2 separate regions of the Homo sapiens genome follow, and region 2 is linked to region 1. Evidence: promoter capture Hi-C in human tissues and cell types (Jung and others, 2019). All regions are on one chromosome and are shown on one strand. The core of a region is centred on a gene start or on the middle of the fragment in contact, and the rest is flanking DNA. Distances in the headings are between cores, read along the strand shown.

What was found. The method cuts DNA at HindIII sites, captures the fragments that hold promoters and counts their contacts. A contact is called where the count stands out against the background at its distance.
Region 2: a fragment that was not itself captured here is called in contact with the fragment with the promoter of FAM83D in region 1 in 2 of the 25 tissues and cell types used here (liver and stomach).

What each region holds. Positions count from the first base shown.
Region 1 is chr20:38,921,919-38,928,994 of GRCh38, reverse strand. FAM83D (family with sequence similarity 83 member D) reads right to left here and starts at 2,578. Exons shown (of 4, transcript NM_030919.3): 1 at 2,070-2,578. The coding sequence starts at 2,552. PPP1R16B (protein phosphatase 1 regulatory subunit 16B) reads right to left here. Exons shown (of 11, transcript NM_015568.4): 11 at 5,971-7,076. RefSeq lists enhancers at 916-1,005, 2,391-2,490 and a silencer at 2,601-2,960. The HindIII fragment of the contact is 31,187 bases long and covers 1-7,076 here.
Region 2 is chr20:39,081,620-39,088,695 of GRCh38, reverse strand. No RefSeq gene overlaps it. Among named protein-coding and RNA genes, the nearest start is that of DHX35, 120 kb to the right of the region's middle. The HindIII fragment of the contact is 4,162 bases long and covers 550-4,711 here.

The DNA of each region.
Region 1 (7,076 bases), core at 1,329-3,828:
ATGTTGGCCAGGCTGGTCTCGAACTCCTGACCTCGTGATCTGCCTGCCTCAGCCTCCCAAAGTGCTGGGATTACAGGCTTGAGCCACTGTGCCCAGCCAATACTCATTGGATTTAAAGGTAATGTACCACCTTTCTCAGTTAAAACTGCCCAGGTTCCAAATACAGCATCTCGGAGGGAACTGTGGGTAGCTAGACTAGGGCAGCAGGTTCTATCTGGAAATGTCAGTATTACAAAATGCCCGTGAGATGAGGGAGAGTCTGAGCTCCTGGCTCCATCCCCTCCTCACGCCAGCACGTGAGTTTAATAGTTTCCCTCTGGCCTCTAGTTCCAGTGCCCTTTTGCTATCACTAAAATTTGGGGCTGGGCAAAAGACTAGAACAATCCACAGCTCTCACTATACAGACCAGTTCTTTACATTTTTCAGGTTCCAAGTGCTCAAGTTCTACTGGACATGAGCTTTGGGGATGCATACCTACACAAGTCTGCCTTTTCCATCTTTTTAATCTTTTCACTGAACCCGCAAGGAAAATGTCTGCTGCATCAAAAAACCCTCAGTCCACCCAAAGCACCTCAGGGCTGGTAAGAGCCTAGCTGCAGCCCACAACCACTCCCTCAAAGGCAAGGCACTAGGTCACTGTATCCACTACCACTGAAACCCCACCAGTCAGGGAAAGAACATTAAGAACATTGGTGAGAGTCGGGGCTTGGACATGTCAACCTGACAATGCACTGGTATCTTCACCCACACTCAGACACACTCAGGTACCAGCCCTAACAAGTCTTAACATGGCTGGGGCTTTATCTGCCATGTCCCTGGCACAGGCAGATAGCCAGGGAGCTGGGCACTGCCAGTCAGCAAGCAACCTGACCATGGCTCCAGACCAAGGTGTCTGCCACGACACTCTATGTGCCACACCCACCTGCAGGCTGCCTTCTTCCTCCTTGATCCCCAGCACCCTGCTGCAGCTTTATCGAGGCTGGCAAGCAGACAAGACCTCCATTGCACCCATGACCATGCCATACTAAGAGTCAGACAGTAGGACCAAAACCCACTATGAATACAGAAGCCGATCTAATGCAAATGTATCTGCATTTTAGGAGACCACTGCAATCTGGCACAGACCCAGCCTATGGAAAACAAACCCCTTGCCCCAGTTTCCCCTCCAGTCTCTGGCAGTAGAAAAAGCGGCAGGGGGCCGGGTGCGGTGGCTCACGCCTGTAATCCTAGCACTTTGGGAGGCCGAGGCGGGTGGATCACCTGAGGTCAGGAGTTCGAGACCAGCTTGGCCAACATGGAGAAACCCCGTCTCTACTAAAAATACAAAAATTAGCCGGGCGTGGTGGCGGGCACCGGTAATCCCAGCTACTTGGGAGGCTGAGGCAGGAGAGTCACTTGAACCCGGGGGACGGAGGTTGCAGTGAACTGAGATCCCACCACTTCACTCCAGCCTGGGCAAAAGAGAATCTGTCTCAAAAAAAAAAAAAAAAAAAAAAGACAAGAAAGAAAAAGCGGCAGGGCTCTCACTTTGCCACTCTCGTGTTTATCTGCTTTTTACAGCAAAAGATGCATGAAAGTAATTAGCAATAATAATTGCTTCCTAATGCCCCGTAGTTGTCTCTGGAGACCATCTTTCTGGAACTTTCCCTGCGTAAGTTCTTTGGTAATGAGTCTCCTAAGAAGCTCCTGAAAGTGGGATCTAGCGTTGGCTGACAGACAGGGAAATAGGCAATTTTCCAAGTTTGATTTTAACTGAAATTTGGAACTCAGAGTACTTCTGGTCCCTCCTTCAGGGATATGAACGTTAGGAGATGGAACCCGGGCACAATTCGCATCCTTGGGAACCGAGGCTTTCCCACTATCCCCTGCCACGAGGAGCGGCCCGGGGGATCCGGGGGAGACACGCAGAGTGGGGTGTGAGTCGGAGACCCTGGGACCACCTAGCCCGCGCGCGCTTCCGGTAGGGCGCAGAGGAGGTAGTGGCCCCGGCCCGTACTCCCAGCAGGCCTCAATTTCCCATTCTTGAAGGGGGTCTCCCGTGCGACCCAGGGCCCTGGAGGGCCGCTCACCTCTCGCGCCGAGCGGAGCTGCTGGCGCAGAGCGTCCTTGCAGCCGTAGGGGCCACCTTCGCCAGCGCCGCGGGGCTGGAAGTGCGTCTCGACACGCGTGGCGCCGCGGTAGGCGCCCTGGTAGAAGGCGGGCCAGCCAAGCTCCAACAGCGGTGGCTCCAGGTCCGACTGCTCGGGGAAGTAGGTGCCCGAAGAGCAGTCGTGCGAGGAGCCGAACGAGTCCTCGGCCGCCGCCGCCGCCGCCGCGCCCTCCTCTCCCGGCCTCTCCGCCGCGCGCAGAATGGCGTGCACCTCATCGGGGTTCAGGAAACGAGCCAGGCGCTCGCGTCGCAGGAAGGCCGCGAAGGCTTCGGGGCCGCCCGCCACCAGCTCCTCCAGAGCCAGGCGCCGTGACTCGCTGAACAGCTCGGTCGGGTTGGGCGGCCCGCACGGCGACAGGCAGGCGGCGGGCACCTCGTCCAGGCCCTCGGACAGCAGAGCCATGGCGGCGCTCGGACTCGACAGCCCTCGGACAAAAACCGGCGTGCAGTCCCGCTTTATAGGCAACCTTTGAATCAAACAGGCCCGCGCCATTGGCCGCACCTCCCCGCCTCGGCTCTCCCATTGGCTGCTTTCCTTCCAATAGCGGAGCGAGGCGGGGCGCAAGCCTCTACGGCTCCGCCCCCTGATGCGTTATTGGCTGCGATGCTGGGCTTGCTAAGAGGAATTTAAACTTGCAGGGGCGAGGCGGGCCGCAGAGCAGGGACAGAGCGGGGAGAGCCGAGCTCCTGGCCATCCCAGCGCGCCCCCTGCCGGTCGCCCCGCTGCGCGGCCGTGCAAGGCCAGGGACAGTCAGGCCTAGACAACGAGGAGAGGCAGGTGCCGACTCCCGGAGACTCTGGCCACGCTGCTCCTAGGCTCTCAGTGCTTTGGCATGGCCAACCATATCGCCTTTATCACCTGCCTTTAACCATGTATTCATTCATTCAAAGAATACCGGCTCATCGTATTAGGACTGCTCCTTTGATTACACCCTCGGGTAGTCTTCTCTCATTTCATCGATTTTTGCCTTGTAAAACCCCAACCAACCGTGGTTATACCCTACTTTCCACCTGCACCCCGGCAGCCCTACAGGGCTGAAGAAAAAACAAAAAGAGCGTAACCATGCTTACTGACTGGTCATGTTTTAAATTCATAATCCGTAAGACTGCCTGCTAGGAGGCCGGGCGCGGTGGCTCACGCCTGTAATCCCAGCACTTTAGGAGGCCGAGGAGGGCGGATCACCTAAGGTCAGGCGTTTGAGACTAGCCTGACCAACACGGTGAAACCCCGTCTCTACTAAAAATACAAAAATTAGCCAGGTGTCTTGGTGTACGCCTGTAATCCCAGATACTCGGGAGGCTGAGGCAGGAGAATCACTTGAACGCGGGAGGCGGATGTTGCAGTGAGTCGAGATAGCACCACTGCACTCCAGCCTGGGCGACAAGATCGAAACTCCATCTAAAAACAAAACAAAACAAAACAAAAGCAAACAAACAAAAAAACTGCCTGGTAGGCCGCATTTCCCTCATTCTCTCTACCTTTTCCTCTCTGACAGCTTGTCTTCCATGTCAGCAAGAACACAGAAACAGTAAGAAGGGAACGTCCACGTGCGGCCATCTAGTCTACCTTCCTGTCTGCATCTCTGCCCGTATACTGGGCATTGATGAACTGTGCCTGTGCCCATCCAACCCCAACCCCTCTGCCTGGGCATTTCCAGCCCCTCTACTACTCACCAGCATCGCTCCAGCAATCTTCTTCTTTCTCCTGGAACATCAGCTTCCCTCTTTACCGATTCATTTCTATCAGCCTACAAGCATGCTGAAATATTTTTCATCTTAAAACAACCCTCTCTTGACCCTACATTCCTCTAAAGCTCCCCATCTCACTTCTTATTTTTGCAGCATAGAATCTCAGATGTGGCTGGCCATGGTGACTTACACCTGTAATCCCAGCACTGTGGGAGGCCAAGGGAAGAGGATCACTTGAGCCCAGGAGTTTGAGACCAGCCTGGGCAGCATAGTGAGACCCTGTCTTTACAAAAAAATACAAAAGTTAGCTGGGCATGGTGGTGCGCCTAACTTTTAGTGCATGGCAGTGCTCATGATGGTCCCAGCCAGTGGGAAGGCTGAGGCAAGAGATCACTTGAGCCCAGGAGTTTGCAGCTGTAGTGAACTATGATCACACCACTGCACCCCAGCCTGGGTGACAGAGTAAGACCCTGTCTCAGAAAAAGAAAGAAAGAAAAGAAAAGAAAAGAAACCCTCAAACCAGTTGTCTATACTTGCTGTCTCCAGTTCCCTTCCAGCCCTCTTCAATCAGGCTAAAACCCCCACTGCTTTACCAAAACCTCTTGTCAGGTTCATCATGAGTTCCACAGAGCTAAATCCAACAGTCAATTTTCAGTCGTCATCTTTTTTATGTAAATGAAAAGTGGGTCATAAATGTGAGATGTTACCATTATTATTTAGCAACCAATAACCTTTTTAAATGGATGAATGCCTGCCGCTGTTGAGACGCCTCTCCCTCTCTACCTCTCCTCTCCCCATCCCCATCCCTTTGTGAAGTTTCTCAAGAATAAGTGTGGGGACTTCCATGTGTCCCTGCGCTGGTATCCAGGGTCCGGGAGGCTGCAAGAGAGCACCTTCTTTTTTTTTTTTTTTTTTTTTTTTTTGAGACGGAGTCTTGCCCTGTCACCCAGGCTGGAGTGCAATGGCGTGATCTCGGCTCACTGCAACCTCCGCCTCCAGGGTTCAAACGATTATCCTGCCTCAGCCTCCTGAGTAGCTGGGATTACAGGCTCATGCCACCACACCTGGCCAATTTTCTGCATCTTTAGTAGAGATGGGGTTTCATCACGTTGGCCAGGCTGGTCTCGAACTCCTGACCTTGTGATCCGACACCCTTTTCATCCTCTTTCAAGAAAAACACCAACAAAGTTCTGTGTGGGACAAGGACCAAGGACTGTGGTCTGAGGCTGTGCAACCACATAGCTTCTCTATGCCTTTAATGCTCGAGGTAAAAAATGAGAATGGCCGGGGCCTTAGCTGCTGTATTGCTGTCATAAGGTGAAGTACTTTATAGTATCGTACTTCCCCACAATAAGCACACGAGGGGAAAGAGTGGAATGGGGCAGGGGGAAGAGGACAGGACATGTCAGTTCACTCCAAGAATGGGACAGAGGAGAGGGGCACCCTTGTTACATATAAATGTCATGAGAGGCGGGGCGTGGTGGTTCACGCCTATAATCCCAGCACTTCGGGAGCTCAAGGCGGGAGGATCACTTGAGGTCAGGAGTTGGAGACCAGCCTGGCCAACATGGTGAAACTCTATCTCCACTAAAAATACAAAAAATTAGCTGGACATCACGGCGAGCGCCTGTAATCTCAGCTACTTGGGAAGCTGAGGCAGGAGAATTGCTGGAACCCGGGAGGCAGAGGTTGCAGTGAGCTGAGATCACGCCACTGCACTCCAGACTGGGTGAAAGAGTGAGGCTCCATCTTAAAAAAATAAAAATAAATAAATAAATATCAGGAAAAACTTTGAAAATGTATGGAATAAATATATGCTACTATACGGCCTCATGTTAATTTCAAAGAGATTATTTGACAGAATGAAGGTCATTCCCAACCACCCACCTTTTCTTGAATTCATCAGTTTTCACCATCTCCTAGTCTGGGGAGACATCTGCTCCAGGTCTGAGCCCCCAGAGCTCCCTCTATTTCAGGGGTCTCATGGGAAAGCCCTCTGTGGGAAAGGGGTGGGGTAAGGGGGAAGAGACTAGGAGCTCTCACCCACCCTCTATTCCAGGAACCTCCTCTTTGTGAATTCAAGTCAGCACTGTTCAAGTGAGCTCACAGCAATAATCACTCACACTAGCAGGTGTTATTAAAAGGAATTTAATAATTTTAATTAAAAACTCTTAACAGCGAATTCTGTCACAGGCCTTGGCAGCTGGAAGCAACTCCAGGGACATGTGCCCCCTTTGGGATGTGGCTGAGCCACAGTTTTGGACCCAAGGCCCACCGGTGCCGCGTGGCAAGGGGCTACGTGGAAGTTACCTCAGTACGATATCAAAGATCTGCGAAGATTTTTTTTAAAAAAGTTTTAAATATATTAGACTCTCTTGATTGCCATTTTTACACAAAGCTGCTGATACAGTATACAGAGTTTTAATTTTTTTTCACATAAAATACATTTTTTTAAGTGTTCTCTGTACACCAGTGGCTTCTGGTCTGGTGAATTATTGCGGAGGGCTGGGGGTCTGCAGACTTTTCCTGGGTGTGCAGAGCCAGGCCCCGCACGGTGGCACTTGCAATGCCCATGGGAAGCAGGCCCTCTGGCCAACAAGAGAGACCTGTTGGGGAGAGGGCTATAGCTTCTGGCACAGGGGGTCACTTTTGCAGAGTCATCCACTGACCATTGGAGCCTTTGCTCTTATGTGCCCTGGGGCAGGGGAGACCATCCCCAAGTTACAAATAGCAAGAGTTAAATACAGCTTTTCTGGGCATCTTAAAAGGAGCACCCTTCTTAAAAGTACCCCAGTATCCTGCTCTAGGAGAGAGAGCAGGTAGGTGAGAGAGCTCAGGATGGGAAGGTATCTGACACCAACAACCACAATGGTCTTATGTTATTACAAAGCCAGCAAACCGGTGGGGCAGGACAGGGGACACACCCTTGTTAGCTTTTCTAAGCCCCTTGGAAATGGATTAAACAGTGCAGAGCAGTTTTACTTATGCTGTATATTTGATGGAGAATTCTATCCTGAAGTCTTTAGTAGCCCTGGGCCTAGAGTTTATTCAGCTTCCCCAAGCTACTTGCCAGAAACTCACAGTCTGGTGATAACCGCCAACTTTCAGTTGTTTGGGGCATATGATGGTGAGCCATGCAGCACCTGCTTTGGAAGTGGTCTCCTTTAATCTAATGAGGAGCTGCCATAGGACCTGGGTCTCAGCAGGAGCTAGGCATCTGGTTGACTTTGCCTGGTTA
Region 2 (7,076 bases), core at 1,381-3,880, 160 kb before region 1:
CACTTTACCTGCATTATCACATTTGCTCCCTAGGAGCAAGACACTCCTGTCCCCATTTCATAAAAAGCAAGATTTGCTGGGGAATATTAAGTGGCTGGCCTGAGGTTGCACAGCTAGCTGTAGGGCCATAAAAAGGGCCAATCCTATTATTCTGTTCCCCTCTGCATTGCACTGGCTCCTCACAAGAACGGCTCAGGACAAGACAATGTGACATTTTAGTGACACAATGGCAAGAAGCTCCTAAGGAATGGAGGCCTAGGCTGACGCTGAAGTCCTGCCAATGACGGATAGCAGGGACCCACACACGCCACAGCTTGGGAGCACCTGTGCCTTCTGGATCAACGAGAATGATCTTCCAGCTGCAGAGGGAGAAGGGACAGTAAGGAGAAGGAACTGGCAGCCATGGTGGCAGGAAGAACCAATGACAGCACCCAGGGCCATAAAGGAATCACCCTAGACTCAAGGGAAGCACCCTCAGAGGAGAAGAAGCTGTGGTTTCCACTAACCAAGGGCCAGGGAGAATAATGTCAACCCCAGGCCAGATTCTGGAAGGGGTTATTGAGTAGAACTTATTATTTTATTCTAATGATCTTACGCACACACGAGTGTATGTGTGCAGGCACAAACATAAAAACACACACACTCACTATGTACAGGAAAATACAGTCAGCCTTCCATATCTTTGGACTCCACACCCATGGATTCGACCAGCCACTGACTGAATAAATTCAGAAAAAATACAAAATAACAATGCAAAATTAAAATATAAATCATATAAATATAAATAATAAAAATTATAAATAATATAAATAGTATAACAATTATTTATATAGAATTTACATTGTATTAGGTATTATAAGTAACCTAGAAATTATTAAAAGTATACAAAAGGGCTGGGCACGGTAGCTCATGCCTGTAATCCCAGCACCTTGGGAGGCCAAGGCAGGCAGATCACCTGAGGTCAGGAGTTCAAGACCAGCCTGGCAACATGGTGAAACCCCAGTCTCTACTAAAAATACAAAAATTAGCCAGGCATGACGGCACACATCTGTAATCCCAGCTACTCAGGAGGCTGAGGCAGGAGAATCGCTTGAATCCGGGAGGCAGAAGATGCAGTGAGCCGAGATTGTACCACTGCACTCCGGCCTGGGCAACAGAGCAAGACTCTGTCTCAAAAAAAAAAAAAAAAAAAAAGTACACAAAAGGATGTTCATATGTTGTATGCAAATACTATGCCATTTTATATCAGAGACTTCAGCATCCATTGATTTTAGAATCCAAGGGGTATCCTGGAGCCAATACCCTGTGGATACCAAGGGACAACTATATATGGTATCTTTTCATGAACTTATATTTTAACATAAATGGTATCTTACTTGAAGTTATCATTCAGCAACTTGTTTTCATAACTTGACCATATGTCTTGGAGATACTACCATCTTGATAGAAACAGATCCACTTCATTGTTTTTAATGCTCTGAGGCATTGTTTTAGTGCTGAGGCATTCCAGATATAGATGCATCATTGTTTATTTAGCCAGCCCCCTGATGATGGCCATTTGGGTTGTTTTTAACATTTTGCCACACTCTAGAGCTTACTGATATCACTTCCACCACATTCTGCATGTCAATGCAGATGACAAGGCAGCTTAGGAAAGTAGACTATTTTTTAATGGAAGGGACTAAAAAATATTGTGGCCATGTTTTTAAGCTTATTTTGGTCCACTCTCTGCTACAATTACTTTCATTTCTTCCACATTCAAAATATGCTCATTCTCCCCTCCCACAAAATGTCTCATGCCATTATAGCTTCATGTTCAGAACCTTGAGTTCTTGTCTTAGCTCAGGCTGCCGTAACAAAATACCATAGACTGGGGGGCTTAAACAAGAGAAATTTATTTTCTCAGTTCTGGAGCTTGCAGTCCAAGATCCAGGTGCCAGCATGGTCAGGTTCTAGTGAGGGCTCATTTCCTGGCTTGCAGACAGCCACCTTCTTGCTGTGTCCTCACATGGCCCTCCTTGGTTCGTGTCCATGAAGCAAGGGAGAGATTTCTCTCTTCCTCTTCTAAGGCCACCAATACTATTAGATTAAGACCCCACTATTATGACCTTATTAACCTCAACTACCTCCTAAAAGGCCTAACTCCAAATACAGTCACATTGAGGGTTACAGCTTCAACCTATGACTTTGGGAAGAGACAATTCAGTTGATAGCACTTCTGAATCAGGGACAGAGGCAGATGGGCTTCATAAGGTGCAGCTCCTACTACTCACCCCCATACTCAACATATAAAGATGAAAAAGAGGGCCGGATGCAGTGTGGCTCCTGCCTGTAATCCTAGCACTTTGGAAGGCCAAGGTGGGTGGATCGCTTGAGGCCAGGAGTACAAGACCAGTCTGGCCAACATGGAGAAAACTCTACTGAAAACACAAAAATTAGCTGGGCGTGCTGGTGCCTGCCTGTAATCCCAGCTACTGAGGAGGCTGAGGCACAAGAACCACTGTAACCCAGGAGGCAGAGGTTATAGTGAACTGAGATTGCACTACTGCACTCCAGCCTTGGCAACAGAGCGAAACTCTGTCTCAAACATAAATAAATAAAGATGAAAAAGGGACAGGATATTCGCAATAGGCATTCCCAGACAAAAAGGGGAGGAACCGGAGGTACTTAGTGGTCCCTGGTTCATAGAAACATCAAAATCCAGCAAAGCACAGGTTGTCAATTCCCTCTGCTTCCAGGGGCAGGGAACAGCCCTTGATTCGGGTCCAATTCTGCTTCCTTGGAGTGATTCCCTAGTCCATTGTTCTCTATGGCTCTTAACTTTCCTCTCTGGACTCTTGGTTCTCCTCTCCTAATCATCCTTCTGTTTGCATAAGAAATGGCTGATATTTATAGCTACATAGTTTTTTTCAGCCTTTCTGCTCTTAGAAAATTGGAGACTCAGAGGCCTGTTTTTATTTTGAAAAGTTGCAGTCACTTTTTGTACACACTTACAGTGTTTTCACTGATACAGATATCTTGAAAATGTTATGGGTTTTCTATGCATCTGACTGAGGTTCATTTCAGTTGAAACAGGCTTCTCTTTCTCTTCTTCCCTCCTGTTGGACCCTTAAGAGTCTTAGAAACCACAGTGTCTAGCTAAAGGGTCTGCTAGTACCACCTTAAGTCTTTCAGAGGGTTTAACAAGGGGTCTTACAGCAACATCCTTAATTTTATCCTTAGACCCAGGTCTTATCTTACTTTGAGAATTTGTTACTGGCTGGATGAATGGAGATATGAGGCAGTTTTCTTTTCCAACCTCAACAAGTCCCAGGCCTTCTAGACTTCTCTAAAATATGGGCATTGGCTGATGCACATTGTCTTGCATAATCCTCACAGGGGCTCTGGGAAGAAGGACAGTCCCCCTCCCTTTGCAAATGAGGACGCTGAGGCTCAGGAGATGGTTCAAACTCACAAAGCCAGGAAGCATCAAAACTGGAGTTAGAACCCTTTCATTCATGCATGCAACAAGTATTTGTTGAGCCCATCTGAGTGCTATTCTAAGCTCTGGAAATAGAGCAGCAAAGAGAAGAGACAACGCCCTGTCCTCATGGAATCTACAATCTAGTGGAAGAGACAGACCTTAGACAGTAAACAAATAAATGACATTTCAGATGGTGGCTGTTACAAAATAATTTTAAAATAACAAGGCAGAGGTGGAGTGATAATGTATACCAGATGGAGACGGGGTCATGGGGCAGGGAGACATTGCTGTTTATAAGGAGTGCCCAGGGAAGGCTGCCCTGACACCTGACCTTCAGGACATAAGAATACTGTGCAGATATCCTCCCAAGCGTGGTGCCTCACAACTGTAATCCCAGCACTTTGGGAGCCCGAGGTGGGTGGATCACTTGAGGCCAGGAGTTCAAGACCAGCCTGGCCAGCATGGTGAAACCCCATCTCTACAAAAAATACAAAAATTAACCAGGTGTGATGGCCCACGCCTGTAATCCCAGCTACTCAAGAGGCTGAGGCATGAGAATCGCTTGAACCCAGGAGGTAGATGTTTCAGTGAGCCAAGACTGCTCCACTGCACTCCAGCCTGGGTGACACAGTGAGATTCTGTCTCAAAAAATAAATACTGTGCCGATATCTGGGGAAAGAGCATTCCAGGTAGAGGGGACTGCTGGGGCAAAGGCCTAGAGACCTTTAAGAACAAGAAAGTAAATTGTCTTGAGAGGCATGAGCGAGGAGGGTAATGAGAGGTGAGGTCAGGGAGGAAAAGGAGAAGGTGAGGAAGACCGTGGAGGGTCTTAAAGGAGAATCATGCAAGGATAGGACTTCACCCTGAATGAGACCCAGGTGAGAGCATGATCTAGTTTCCATTTTTACAGGATGCCCCTGGATCTTCCACTCAACATGTCAGGACCCTCTTGGCTAGGACTGAAGAGCTCTAGTTAAAGGTAGGTAGGAAAAACCTTTCTCCCAATCCCATCCCATCCAGGGCACCCTCAGGCCCCATCCTCCCAGCCCTGCTGGGCTTTGGCTCCGGTTGCTTTCTCTCCACCCTGGAGCCCAACAGCCACCCTCCCTTCTCCTCCTCCCTGGAGTCACTCACTTCCAAGACAAATGGCAGCTTCTTTCTGCCCATCCGTCACTGCTCTCAGGCCCATCCATTAGCGGCCGCTCCCCACCCTGCCCCCAGCCCCACTGTCCTTGCTTGGGGATGGGGTCCATTGATCAGAGGCCCATCTGCCACTTGTCACATTCTGGTGGCCTGACAGCAGGAGACAGAGCTGTTGCTGGCCAGGCCAGCCAGGGGCCAAGGGAAAGACAAAACTACCCACCCCCGGGGTTGGGGCTGGGGCGAAAGCCCTGACTGGGAAAAGGGAGCAGGTGGTTGGGGTCAGGGTAAGCCTTTCCCAGCCAGCAGCTGCTCCTCCCGGGCAAAATGGAAAGTGAGTTTTACAGAACAGACTTGCAAAGGCTCCCAAGCCCCCCTCCACATCTGGGTCTGCTCCAACCTGGGTGTGCAAGGCTGGTAGGGACCCGACCAAAATGCTGAAGGCCCTCCCATCCTGACTCCAGCTTTTCCCAGACTTCTCCATGCACCTCGAATCACCAGGCCAGGCCTAAACTGGGCACGTCCCCCCAACCTGACTCTCTTCAGAATTTTCCACCCCCACCAGTAGCCCCCTGGCCCCTCCAGGTCCACTCAAGAGCCTCCTCCCACTGCTAGGTGGCCGGAGAGGATGACCTATGGACCGCCTGCCCTCTGGCTCCTGGTTGAACTAGACAGCACTGGCAGGAGACCTGAAGGAGGGAGGATGAGGCTGAGGACTCATCCTCTGGCTCCTGCTCTGCAGGGTCCCTGTGGGTGACCATGGGTTGGCTGTGTCCCTCTACCCAAGGAGCTCTCTCCACACAACTCCCGCTCTGAGTGCTGGTAACCACCAGCCCCTTGCCTCTTTGCCTGGAGATGCTAAAGGCTCCCTACAGCTGCTAGCTCGGGACACCACCTCATCCCTTGTGACTCCCTCCCTCTGCCTACATGAATATAAATGGCCCCTTCATTAAACTGCTCTCAATTACCCAGTTTTAAAGTGTGCATCATTCAGTCAATAGGAAAAAAAGTGTGCATCAGAACAGGACCAAGTGGCAGGGGGTGAGGGTGTGGGTGCCTGCCCTGGGGAGGCAATGACAGGCAGAGGCACACACTCTCCATTGTAACACAAATTCAAGTATAAAATCGTGAAGAATTTCAAGACAGCGACCATGAAGCACGGGGCTCTTCCAAGCCTGTGGGACTGCCCTGGCAGCACGCCCATGCAGCTGGCCCCATCTACCACCCTTCTCTCCTTGTCTCTCCCAGCCTCTGACCTCCTGGCCACATCCCCTCACACACTGAAGACTTTGGCCACTGCTCAGGCTCCTGTTCACCCAATAGCCAGCATCGTCCTAAGAGAGTCGCCTTGCACCTAGACAACCCATCCATCATCCTGGCTGTCAGGCATCCCCTACCTCCCCATCTCCAGGGACCTCCACCTTCATCCATCTCAGCTACTCCCTCCCATGGTCAAATCCCTACACAACCCAGCCTAGCCCTGGGCAAGAATGCTTTTTAGAAATCTCTTCTCAGTATCAGCTAATATCTGCCTCCTGTAAGATCCTCGAATTCTTCTCAGCAAGGCTCTCCAGGGCTCCAGGAAGGGGCTGCCTCCCTCAGACACGCAGCCCACATAGGTCTGAAGACATGACTGCGGAAGCAGAGGTTGGAATGATGTGCTTTGAAGATGGATGGAGGGGCATGGGCAAAGGAAGGCTCTAGACACTAAAATAGAGAAGGAAACAGATTCTTCTCTAGAGCCTCCAGAAGGAACACAGCCCTATGACACCCTGATTTTAGCCCATAAGACCCACTTTGGAATTCTGACCTCCAGAACTGTAAGATAATACATTGGTGTTGTTCTAAGCTACTAAGTTTACTGTGATTTTTTTACAACGTTAGGAAACTAATATAGATTTTGGTCTCCAGACACCCTCTACTCCAGACTAAGCTCCATCAATTTCTCTAAGCATGGGAACATCCCAGGAAAGTATGACCTCTCCAGCTTCAGTTTTTTTTTGTTTGTTTGTTTTTTGAGACAGAATCTCACTCTGCCACCAAGGCTGGAGTGCAGTGGCGCAATCTGGTCTCACTGCAACCTCCACCTCATGGGCTCAAGCGATTCTCCTGCCTTAGCCTCCTGAGTAGGTGGGATTCCAGGCATGCACCACCATACCCAGCTAATTTTTGTATTTTTAGTGGAGACAAGGTTTCTTGGCCAGGCTCTCAAACTCCTGACCTCAGGTGATCCACCCACCTCGGCCTCCCAGAGTGCTGGGATTACAGGCATGAGCCACCATGCCCGGCCAGCTTCCTCAAATTGGAGATGGGGAGATGTTGTGAGGATCAAAGAAATCAATAGATGTAAAGTGGTTAGCATGTTAGGCAAAGCACTAGAAATATTAAGCACTCAAAAACTGCTAGAAGATATTATTATTGTTGTTATTGTTGTTGTTTGACGTTTTCTATAGCACCCTGGTTTTCAACCAGG